Linked DNA regions of Homo sapiens: all the other regions are linked to region 1. The links are contacts of gene promoters, found by promoter capture Hi-C in blood cells and fetal thymus (Javierre and others, 2016). All regions are on one chromosome and are shown on one strand. Each heading gives the region's core, a stretch centred on a gene start or on the middle of the fragment in contact. The rest is flanking DNA. Distances are from core to core; before and after follow the strand shown. Region 1 holds the start of GBP7 (guanylate binding protein 7). Region 2 has its middle 76 kb from the start of LRRC8B. Region 3 has its middle 58 kb from the start of LRRC8B.

Region 1 (4,291 bases), core at 1,447-3,946:
TATATTTATTTTTATCTGTACATTTCTATAATAAAGCTTGAGATTCTGTTGATATTTCCAGTTCCAATCCAACACATCTGAGCTTATTCAAGCTTTTGACTTTCCTTTTTAAACTATTTTCTCCAAGTAAGCTAGACTTTGGTCTTCTAACACATAATACATTTGTTTCCTTGCTCAGTCCTAGTATATTCATATAGTAGTTTCAAAATTGATAATAAGTCTGTGGAAAAATAAATTTACTTCCTATAGAAAATTATTAGTGTACAGTTCTTTTGGTCTTTAGCCTTATATACACACTCAAAACATTGCATTCCAAAGTTGCTTAGGTTAGCTTTTTCCTTCTCCACCTTCTTCAGTATGGTTAAATTATTCATTTGTAAAACAGTTAGTTACATTTGTTACTGTTTGTGTTTCAGTTTGGCCTCCTTCACATCTTGGTATCTTGGTTGATTTTAAGTATGATTTATTTTTTGAGTTTGTGAAACATCATGGTTCTGAAATGCAGAGCTTTTCAAAAAGTTACAGTCAGAGAAGTGTCACTTTTCCTTCATCTTACCACTCCACTCACATTGCAGTGGTCTTCTATTCTTTCTACCACATTCCCACCCATCCTCCATAGATACCCAATCTTGTTAGTTTCTGGTTTACGCTTCTTGGATTTTCTTTTCTCAAATGAGAATGTACATATTTTCTTTTTCACATTTTCTAACACGAAGATCACATCATATAGAAATTTGGAAATCCCTCCACATCTGTTCATAGAAAGCTTTTAAAATCCTTTTAACATGTATCTACTCCTTTATGTGGATTATACCCCAGTTTATTCAATCACTCTTCAATGTATGGGCATTTAGATTGTTTCAAATATTTTGCAATTACAAACAATGCTGCAATGAATAACTCTGCTAACGTTATGCATGTGTATTTTTATATTGTTACAGGAGTAATTTCAGGATAGAGTCCTACCAACGGGATTGCTTGGTCAAAAGATGAGAGTATATAATTTTGTAGATATTGCCAAGTTCCTCTCCAGAAAGTTGTACAAGGTTGCATTCCCACCAGCTCATCTTGTATGTCATTTTCTAGAAAATGGAATTTTTCCTAGGTGCCCCGCTTGCTCTTCTGAATTAATTACAAAATTTCCTTTGGAAGCTTTTCACGTTCACATTTAGATCTTTGGACTGAGCAAAGCTGAGCTCGCTGAGCTCATGTATATAGTAGTAGTAATCTTCACCTGGGAAACATTGTGTTATACATATCTCTATACTTTGAAACATAGATACCATTCTAACCCATTCTTGGTCCTGATTTCTTGCAAGCCCCTCTGTGGGCAGGGTCTGGTCAGACTGTGGGACTCAGGTTACCCAATGGCTTCCTCCTCTCACTGTGCATCAGCATTCACACGTTATTCATGCAAGCCTGATAGCTCGCACCTGACACTTACTCTGTTGATTTTTGACTTGATTATGTTAACAGATTTTGAATTCTCTGCATTTGAAGATTGATTCTTTATTACCTCCATGTATATCAGTCTGCATATTGTTTTTAATTATTTCATGTAATGAAGTCACAGCATGAAACATTCTTTGAAAAACCATGGCTTGTTTTTTGTCTGATCTCTGCTGTATAGAGAGTAGCATATGCACAATTGTAATCATGCTATCTTTATCCAGGGCTTGATAAATTAAATATTTTGATAATTTTGTAAAGTTAAAAGGAGTGAAAAGCCTTCTTGTAGTGATGCTTTAATTTTGTGTTTTTAAGTTGAATGTCTCAATCCTTGTAACTTATGTGATCATGATACAAAATATATAATCTCTTTAAGATACAAGCAAATATAGATGATAGATACTGCAGTTTTCTTTTTTATCCTATAATAAAGAGTGGTTTGTTTCCACTATAGAGTTGGTTACTTCTGACTTGTTCCTCTGGAGGTTTATATTAAATTATCTGGCTTCCCATCACTTCAGCAGAAGATGGAAAAAAAGCCGTTTATTTTTCTGTGATCATGACCCATTTCCTCTTATAGCAATGGCCTACAGGATCTGCTGGCAAGCAAGAAGGGCAAACCAGAAACTAAAAAGATTGGGTATCTATGGAAGATGAGTGAAAACAGAGTATGCGTCTGTCCAATTCTGTAGCATATACTATGCTACCATAACATAGGAATCAATCAGTCACCGGCTCAGAAAGGTGGTGGCACAAAGATGTTATAAGGTCCTGGATTATAATAATGTGTTGCCTCTTTTTGCAGATCCCAAGTTGCCTACCTTCATTTACCTAGAGCTATAAATGTTGGGCCCAATAAAGAAAGTGACAGAGCCTATTAGGCAGATATTTAAAGATAACAGTAATTTAAGATGGTGTCAGAAAAGAAATAACAATCTTAGAACACTGGCTTCTCTGAATATCTGTTCCACCTCTGCTGAAGCCTAATCTGACACAGCAGGAATTAGAGCACACTAAGGTACACACAGCCACCTAAGAGGCCAGGATTTCATCTGGACTTGTATCCTGTAGCTGGCTCAGCTGCAGCCTATCTTGGGGATGGTCAACTTAGAGAAAACTAATGGATCCTTATAAATCATGAAATCCTTATAAGTCATAGTCTTACCCAGAGTAGAGATCCTCTGGACTTGGTAAGAAGGCAGCTTCAATGAGAAAGTTATGAGTCTTTATTCTCTTCTCTTTAGTTCTGAATTTGGCTGCACTGATTTCTCCCACTTTTTTTCTTGCTGGAACTTTGGACTTTTACCTTACCTCTCCAATGTCATGGGGCTTTCCAGACTTTCTAGAGACCTGTATTTATACATGTAAAAAACAATGCAACCTCTGCAAATAAATAGAGTAATATGACAGTCCATGATTTAGCAACAATAAAAGAAATTGCTGACAGCTGTGCTAGTGAGAGGATTTGACATAATTTCTCAAACAGAATCTTCCAATTTTATTATTGGAAGAGATCTTAGAGACAGCTTGCGATTATTAAAAAAACTTCAATGAATCGTTTAAAATAATGACATTCATCTCATGTTTGTGGGCCACATTGAGAAGTACAGGAATAAGAAAGCTTAATATAATATTATTTAGGTTCAATTGGCTTGAATATTAGACTCTTAAAATGGAACTCATTATTTGTGTTTAATAATGAGGACTCTAAATGCCCTGAAGGAATGTCCACGTCTTATACATGTTTGAATTATTAGCACCTAACTCAGGTCTTGGCACTTAACATTTAATAAATAATAATGAAGATAGTACCCGTTTTGTTTACATAGATTATCCCATTGTATTCTTATCACAAATACTTTTACCACAATGTTAAAAGAGGGATTTAATAATTTATTACAATTACAGAGCTACTAAATAAGATTTGGGCCCAAGAAGTCTTGCTGTCAGTCACTTCATTAAAATACCTCTGTGTTTGCTGAGTGTACAATAACAATGTTTTCTCCTTATCAGTTCCATTCTAGGCCATATTCTTTACACATACCATTTTAAATATCAAAATACCTCAAGATAAAGGTTGTTTATTATCCCCATTGTCCAAGGGGGAAAAATAATCAGAAAACGGGTAATTAATATGTCTAACTAAAGCCATTGAGCTACACACCAAGGTAGCAAGTAATTGAGCGAGATTCAAACTTGAAAATCCATTTGGTTAAAACCACATTGATTCTCTACTGCACATTGTCTCTAAAAGAGAGGAAGGTGGGAAGCGGGGAAGAGAGAGAGAGAAATGGAGAGCAGAGAGTAAGACTTCTCTGTGTGTGTGTGAATATTGATGAGATTTAAAGTGAAAGTAAGGCAGGGTTATTTCAAAACAGAACTATTGCTAGGAAATCACCTGCTTCTAAGTAATAAAATCTATTGTTTATATCATGCAAACAAAAAATAGCCCCAGGCAAAATTGAATCTTTGTGAATCATGTATAATTTAAGGGTACATAAATTTATAAGAAAAAAAGATCCCACTTTCCCAACTTGTGTTTTTTTTTTTTGAGACAGAGTTTCTCTCTTGTTGCCCAGGCTGGAGTGCAATGGTACAATCTTCGCTCACTGCAACCTCCACCTCCTGGGTTCAAGCGATTCTCCTGTCTCAGCCTCCTGAGTAGCTAGGATTACAGGCATGAGCCACCAAGCCCGGCTAATTTTGTATTTTTAGTAGAGATGGAGTTTCTCTATGTTGGTCAGGCTGATGTCGAACTCCCAATCTCAGGTGATCCACCCGCCTCAGCCTCCCAAGGTGTTGGAATTACAGGTGTGAGCCACCATGCCAGACCCCAGCTTGT
Region 2 (4,032 bases), core at 330-2,829, 270 kb after region 1:
CAGGCCACTGCCAATATTCACTTAAAGTCCAAGGGCTATTCAGTCAGCTTGTAGTGAATGCCAGGCCTGAGAATCACCCTTCAGTGCAATGGGCTCCCATCTGGTCTAGGGCAGGTCCAGAAATACTGTCCAAAAGCTTAGGCCTGGACTCAGGGATCCCAACAGCCCACTAGGTGCTCTGCCTCACTGGGGTCAAGCTGTACTTCAGGTACAAGACAAAGTCCTCTTTGCTTTTCCCCCTGCTTTTCTCAAGCAGGAGTCTTTCACCATAGCCACCACAGCTGGGAATATGCTATGTCTCACCTAAAACCAGGACATCTCCAGTCTTATCCAAGGCCCATAACATACTACCTGAGTATCACCCTTGGTTATTGAGGTCCCAAGGGCTCTTTAGTCAGCAGGTGATGAATCCTGCCAGGACTGGGTCATACTCTTCAGGGAAGCAGTTTCCCTTCTAGTCCAGGGTATATCTAGAAACGTAGTATGGGAGCTAGGGCCTGAAATATAGGGGTCAAGACTCTGCTTGTGTCCTATCCTATTGTGCTGACCTGGTATTGAAGATGCAAAATGAAGCCATCTTTACTTTCCACTCTCCTCTCCTCAAGGAGAAGGAAGGAGTCACTTTCATTGCTGTGAGCTGAGCTTCCTGGGGATGGAGGAGGGGAGGTACAAGCACTCCCTTAGCCGCCTGGCTGGTATCTCCTTGGATCACATGCCACTCTAGTCCACCTGCTCTAAGCCCAGCCTAGCACTAAGACTTGCCTAGGAATTGTAGCCCTTGTGTCCTAGACTGCCTTTCAAGTTTTCCTAGGACCCCAGAGCCCTTTAGCCCACAGTGGTGAGGCTTGCCAAGAAACTAAAGTTCCAACTGCTGGGATGGGCAATTTCCCTCTGGATAGGGTTTATCCAAATACTCCCTCCATGGGGCAGCCACCAGCTGAGTTCAACATGATTTTGCTTTCCACTATGACAAGGCAGCACTGAGTTCAATGCCAAGTCCCTTAGTCATTGTGCTTGCCCTCTTCCAAATACACAGATTCTCTCTCCAGAATCGGGGAGGTAAGGCATTGATGACTGATGATTGAAGACTGTCTTTCCTACCCTCTTCAGTGCCTCTTTTAGTGGTATGAAGCTAAAACCAGATATTGTGATTGCTTACCTGATATTTGGTTCTTATGATGATGGTTTTGTGTGTAGTTGTTAAAATGTGGTTGTTTCTGCAGTGAGGACAATCAGTGGAGAGTTTTATTCAGCCATCTTGCTCTGTCACTTTCTAAATACCCTGATGAATTGATGCTAAAATCTTCAACAAAACACTAGTAAACCAAATTCAACAATATATCAAAAAAAATAATTTATCATGACTAAGTGGGATTTATCCCAGAGATGCAAGGATGTTTCAACATATGCAAATCAATCAATGTGAAACATCATATATATTACATGAAGAAAAAAGCAAATAATCATTTCAATTGATGCTGAAAAAGCATTTGATGAAATTCAACTTCCCTTCACAATAAAAAAAATCTTAAAAAACTGAGTATAGATGGAACATAACACAATAAAATCCACATATGACAGACTTACAGTTAGTATCATACTGAACAGGAAAAACTGAAAGCCTATCCTCCAATACCTGGAACTGGAAAAGCATATCCACTTTTACCACTGTTATTCAACATAGTACTGGAAGTCCTAGCTAGAGCATTCAGATAAGCAAAGAAAAAAAGAGCATTTGAATTGAAAAGGAAGAAGTCAAGTTATTTTTGTTTGCAATTGATATGCTCTTATATTTGGAAAAACCTAAAGACTCCACAAAAACTTTCTTAGAACTAATAAACAAATTTAATAAGTTTGCAGAACACAAAATTAACATACAAAAATCTGTAGCATTTGTATGTGCCAATAGCAAAAAACCTGAAATTAAGAAAGTAATTTCATTTACAATAGCTACAAATAAAATAATATACCTAGGGATAAACTTAATCAAAGAAGTAAAAGATCTCTACAACACAAACCATAAAGCGTTGATGCAAGAAACTGAAGAGGACTCAAAAAATAGAAAGATATTGCATGTTCACAGATTTGAAGAATCAACTGTCCATACTCCCTAAAGAAACTTACAGATTCAATAGACTCTCTATCAAAATATCAAGGACATTCTTCACAGAAATAGAAAAAACAATCCTAAAATTTATATGAAACAACAAAAGATCCAAAAGAAACCAAGCTATCCTGAGTGAAAAGAACAAAACTGGAGGAACCACATTACCTGACTGCAAATTATACTACAGAGCTATATAACCAAAACAGCATGGTACTGGCATAAAAACATACACAGAGACCAATGGAAGAGAATAGAGAACCTAGCAATAAGTGTATACATCTCCAGTGAACCCATTTTCAGCAAAGGTGTCAAGAATATACATTGGGGAAAGGACAGTCCCTTTAATAAATGGTCTTGGAAAAACTGGATATCCATATGCAGAAGAATGAAATTAGACCCCTACTCTTGTTCTATATAAAAATCAGATCAAAATGGATTAAGATTTAAATTCAAAACCTCAAACTATAAAACTACTAAGAGAAAACACTGGGGAAACTATGAAGGACATTGGGCTGAGCAAAGATTTCTTGAGTAATACACCACAGGCACAGGCACTATAGTCAATAATTAATTGTACATTTTAAAATAACTAAAATAATGTAATTGGATTGTTTGAAACAAAAAAATGATAAATGCTTGAGAAGATGGATACCCAGTTTTTCAAGAGGTGACTATTACACATTGCATGCTTGTATCAAAGTATCTCGTGTTCCCCATAAATATACATACCTGTTCTATGCCTACAAAAATTAAAAAATAAATTTAAAAAATAAAATAAAATGGACACTGAGCATGAAAAATCCCTGAGCAAACAAATTAACTGGGCCTTAAAAATAGCCTTAACCTTACTTAAACTGCAAACATAAGTGAAAAGTTAACTTGGGTAATTTCTGGCAAATGCTTATGTTAGAAAAAAAAGCTTAAGCTCAGCCAACTGAAAGAGTTGAAATATGCTATTCTGCCATATTGAATGTTTAAGCTAAAGACACTAGAAAAAAAGCAGGGTTTGATCATAATGCTGTTTCTTAAAAGCAGAATATGAAACTCCCATGTAAAAGACACACTCTCTATACTAGAAGGAAAGGCAATATCCTTGTATTCAGGATGCGAAGTTGAAACCAAGAGAATTCTGTACAGACCTTGTTAAAATAGTTTTATCTTTTAAGCCTCTCCAAATAATTTAGCTACTTCTTCACTGCCAATTGTTCTTTGTTTAATCCACTATACAAGTAACTAATTCTAAACACTTCTTTGGGTCTTCATTTCTTTACATGGCTCTCATGCCATGTAAAACATCCTATGTGTCTTTCCTCTTAATCTTACTTATGTCAATTTTTCTCCCACCAAGGACTCTAAAAGGATGGAGGTAGAAGTTTTTCTGCCCCGACTCAGTCATAAGCAGTGAAATAAAGTATGATTACATGACTAGAGACTTTCCAACAAGGTAAACTAAAAAAGGCAATCTTGTAACTGCTAAAGTAATTTCTTTATTTTGCTTCCACAGTTGCCTTATAAATACTTGCCTCTGATGCTTTGTCATCCTAATGCTGAACTTCCTTGGGTTTGGTGCTTTCCAATTCATGTTTTCTTCCTCAAATAAACTCTAAACTCTAAACACCCATTGTGCCACAGATTTGTGTGTGTGTGTGTGTGTGTATATATATATGTTGTGTATATATATATATATATGTTGTATATATATATGTTGTGTGTATATATATAGTGTGTATATATATATAGTATATATATAGTGTGTATATATATGTATAGTATGTATTCATATATATATATGAATACATACATACGTACAAGTAGACCTCATTTTATTGCACTTCACTTTATTGTACTTTACAGACTTTGTGTATTTACGGATTGAAGGTTTGTGGCAACTCTGTGTACAGCAAATCTATCAGTTTCATCTTTCC
Region 3 (3,769 bases), core at 765-3,264, 290 kb after region 1:
AATTCAGGTTTGATTCACCTGCACTAGCAATGCTATCTACATATACGAATGTGTTCTTAATACAAATCACTTTTACAGGGCAAGGACAATTTTTAAAATGTATTATTGAATTTTGAAAATGTTAATAATGTTAAAAAAAATTACTGAATTTGAAATCAGAATGCAGTTCAACTCTCAACTCTGCCATTAGCTCTATGACCTGAAAAAGTCAGTTCACCTCTCTAGGTCAGATTACTTATCCATGGAATGGCCCGCATAGTCCATTACAGATCTCCTGTGCTAGACTAATGCAGGCAGTGCTCTCCTAAGGAGATGGTGCTGTCCCAATACAGACACTGGGCTGATTCTAGAAAGAGAAGCCTTGACATTCACCAAGTGCCTCCTGTGAGCTGTGCACCACAGCTTCACTTCTGTGGCTTTGGTCAATATTCACAATACACAAGGTTGCATTATGACACATATTTTACAGCTGAGGAGACACATACCCAGAGAGCTCAAGTAACACACTCAAATTCATGCAGCACATGCTAGTTACAACTAGTTCTGTCTGACTTGAAATGTGGTCTGTGACACTGTAATCACTTACCTAAAGATTAAATAAGAGTGACTCACACTCTGACAACACTTTTCAGGTTGCAGACACTTCCACACTCATTAGTTAATTTAAACCCATCAAGAACCCCATGTCAAAGCCAAGGAATATGAAAAACAGGATCAGATATATTTCAGGAACCTGTCTAAGGTAACGCAGGAAATGACAGAGACGGTGGAAGTTGAATTCAGGTCTCTCTGATGCCATGCCCTTTCCAGTATGCCTCAGCACCCTACTCTACCACCACTAAAGGGATCTCGGAAAAATCACTTAATATCTTTAAACTTCAACTCCCTTTACTAGAAGCTCTTAATTATAATACCTGCCCCTGGCATCATCCTGAGGGTTAGGGAACTCATAGAAAGTATTTTGCAAGTGTTTATGAACATACAAATGACAGGGTGTTTCAGCTTTACTTGAGCAATGACCATTTGTGTTATCCAAATTGGCTTCTTCTTTAAAAGTTTAGACAGAACTATCAAAACAAATTGGGGACTAAATACCTCTGTGATGTACACTTCTATAAGGCCTGGCACAGGATGAAGGCTCAATAAACGTGTGTTTTCTATTTTTGGTAAGCAAAGAGGCTTTAATCAATAGCTGTCCAGAATGACAATTGTAGCAAATCCTGATCATGGATAACAGCATCTAGAATAATAGCCAGTCCATCAACTCATGTTAAAACCACAAAACCACATCCCTGCTGTGCTAGGGAAGCATCCTTTTGTCCTGAATGAAGTTCAGTATAATATCGAAACTTCTGTGAGAAGGATAAATCCAGAACAATTAAAAATAAAAATTATTGTGTTAGGACAGGTCACACAAGTAGTTTTCCTGGTGATACCTCTGTGATACTGGTAATGAAGATATTATGTGGTTAGTAGACACATCATCAACCACAAAGAAAGAGCTGTGTGCCATAGCAAACCGGCCATACCACTAAGCTTCTACTACCTGAATGCCCCTATCGTGTGGAGTCACGTGGAAATGTAACATGGGTTCTTTTTTGTTTGAGACTGACCTGGGTTTTATAAATCATTAAATTTTCTTTCAGAGCAATTGGATTAACTTTTGTTGTAAGTAAAATGCAACTTCTTTTGGTTTGTTTAGAACAATGTATGTATGGTATGTGGGAGGAGAAGAAGGAGAGGGGAGAAAAGGAGAAGCAGGAAGGGGAAGAAGATAAGCAAAAGGGAAATGAGATAAAAATGGCCATTGTGAAATAAATGTTTTAATTCAAGAGAAAGACAAAATATTTCTAAATTTTTTTTAACTTTTATTTTACGTTTCGGGGTACATGTGCAGTTTTATTATGTGGTAAATTGCCTATCACAGGGGTTTTATGTGCAGATTATTTCATCACCCAGGTGATAAGCATAGTACGTGATAAGTAGTTTTTTGATCCTCTCTCCTCCGGCTCTAAATTGTTATGTATGTAATAACAGAGCCTCAAAATAAATTCTCAACAAATTTCAAAGGGACAAAGTCATATAGAGTATATATTTGGCCACAATAAATTAAGAAATCAGTAATGAAAAGGAGCTTGAAATAAAAACACATATTTTAAATGACCCATGTGTTACAAGAAGTCATGATGAGAGTTAAAAAATATTTGAACCCTTCTTTGCAATGATAAATGGATATATCCTTCTTTATTTTGTACAAAAGTCTCTGTGTTTATTTTGTGGTTTCTAAAATGCTGGGCATACCTCTGCTTGGTTGAAAAAAAAAAAAACAGCATGGTACTTTCATACTGAGTGTAATTCTCTGCTTTATAGAAACAAATTCTGAAAATCAGGATTGAATCTCCATTTGCTTAACATTAATAACCTCCCGCTCTGTCTCAAGTTAGTTGGTGTTGGCTACAAGCCAGGTTTATATTTTAAAATAACAGTGGAAGAAAGCTTTGTACTGTGGTTATCAATTGCTGAAGGAAAAAAAAAGTCTTTTTAATGAAATTTTCTATATGCCAAGATAGGTGTTTATGAGTAAAGACAATATTGTAGTCAAAATAGTTTCTTAACCTGATATAGTATTGTTAGCTTGCTAGAATTAAAATAATTTTACTTTCAAGATGTTATACATTAACTAGCCCCAAAGGAACAACTTTAAAAAAATTTCCTTTAATGATAGATTTATTTGTTGACAATTTTTTATACTAGCATTGTAGTTCAATTTGATTATGAATTAATAACCTGTGTATTTAAAATAATCATAAATGTTGCTGAAGAATCACAGGTGGTACATTTAAAAAATGTTTCTGGCCGGGAGCGGTGGCTCACGCCTGTAATCCCAGCACTTTGGGAGGCCGAGGCGGGCGGATCATGAGGTCAGGAGATCAAGACCATCCTGGCTAACACGGTGAAACCCCGTCTCTACTAAAAATACAAAAAAAATTAGCTGGGCGTGGTGGCGGGCGCCTGTAGTCCCAGCTACTTGGGAGGCTGAGGCAGGAGAATGGCGTGAACCCAGGAGGCGGAGCTTGCAGTGAGCCGAGATAGCGCCACTGCACTCCAGCTTGGGTGACAGAGCGAGACTCCACCTCAAAAAAAAAAAAAAGATGTTTCTAAAGTGTTTTAATTAGACATTTTGAAATATGCAGGATCATTTCAACTTATTCAAGGTAATAGGAATGATTTAAATTCATATACATCCCCAAAGTTGCTTTTTCCTGATGAAGCCCTTGCCATGCACACATCCTGAAGTTGGAAGACAAAAGTTTAAGTCCTACTTCCACCATGCACTAGCTGAATGGTTAAACTCTGAGCATGCTTCCTTACTGATTGTATGAGTATAATGGTGATACCTAAAAGGTTTATTTTTTTATCAAATTCTGAAATGACTAATAAAACATTTTATGAATTATAAATATAAATTAGGACTGAATACTAATAAATGACAAAACAGACACGTTTGTTTCAAGTTCTAAAAGAAGTTATTGACATTAAAAAACAAAGAGAATACTCACATTGTACATTTCTCTGTGTTCTGTTACCATATTGAGAAAGCAAAGAAGAATATTTAGAACACTCAGTAAATGAAAGGCATGGTTTAACCTGGAATAACTGAATCTGTGAAATAATGAGGAGCTTCAAAAATTGTCTCCAGATTATTTCTCATGCTGACTCTAGCTGGAATATGTTAGTACAGTTTAGCAAAAAAAATTATGAATGCCCT

What was found. The method cuts DNA at HindIII sites, captures the fragments that hold promoters and counts their contacts. A CHiCAGO score of 5 or more calls a contact.
Region 2: a contact is called between a fragment that was not itself captured here and the fragment with the promoter of GBP7 in region 1, in 3 of 17 cell types (activated CD4 T cells, total CD8 T cells and non-activated CD4 T cells). The highest score is 10.5, in activated CD4 T cells.
Region 3: a contact is called between a fragment that was not itself captured here and the fragment with the promoter of GBP7 in region 1, in 6 of 17 cell types (activated CD4 T cells, M1 macrophages, total CD8 T cells and 3 more). The highest score is 8.3, in activated CD4 T cells.

Annotation. Positions count from the first base shown.
Region 1 is chr1:89,173,307-89,177,597 of GRCh38, forward strand. GBP7 (guanylate binding protein 7) reads right to left here and starts at 2,697. Exons shown (of 11, transcript NM_207398.3): 1 at 2,615-2,697. The region is part of intron 3 of LOC105378842 (a long non-coding RNA gene); the gene reads left to right. The HindIII fragment of the contact is 1,918 bases long and covers 1,151-3,068 here.
Region 2 is chr1:89,446,656-89,450,687 of GRCh38, forward strand. No RefSeq gene overlaps it. Among named protein-coding and RNA genes, the nearest start is that of LRRC8B, 76 kb to the right of the region's middle. The HindIII fragment of the contact is 2,890 bases long and covers 135-3,024 here.
Region 3 is chr1:89,464,986-89,468,754 of GRCh38, forward strand. No RefSeq gene overlaps it. Among named protein-coding and RNA genes, the nearest start is that of LRRC8B, 58 kb to the right of the region's middle. The HindIII fragment of the contact is 960 bases long and covers 1,535-2,494 here.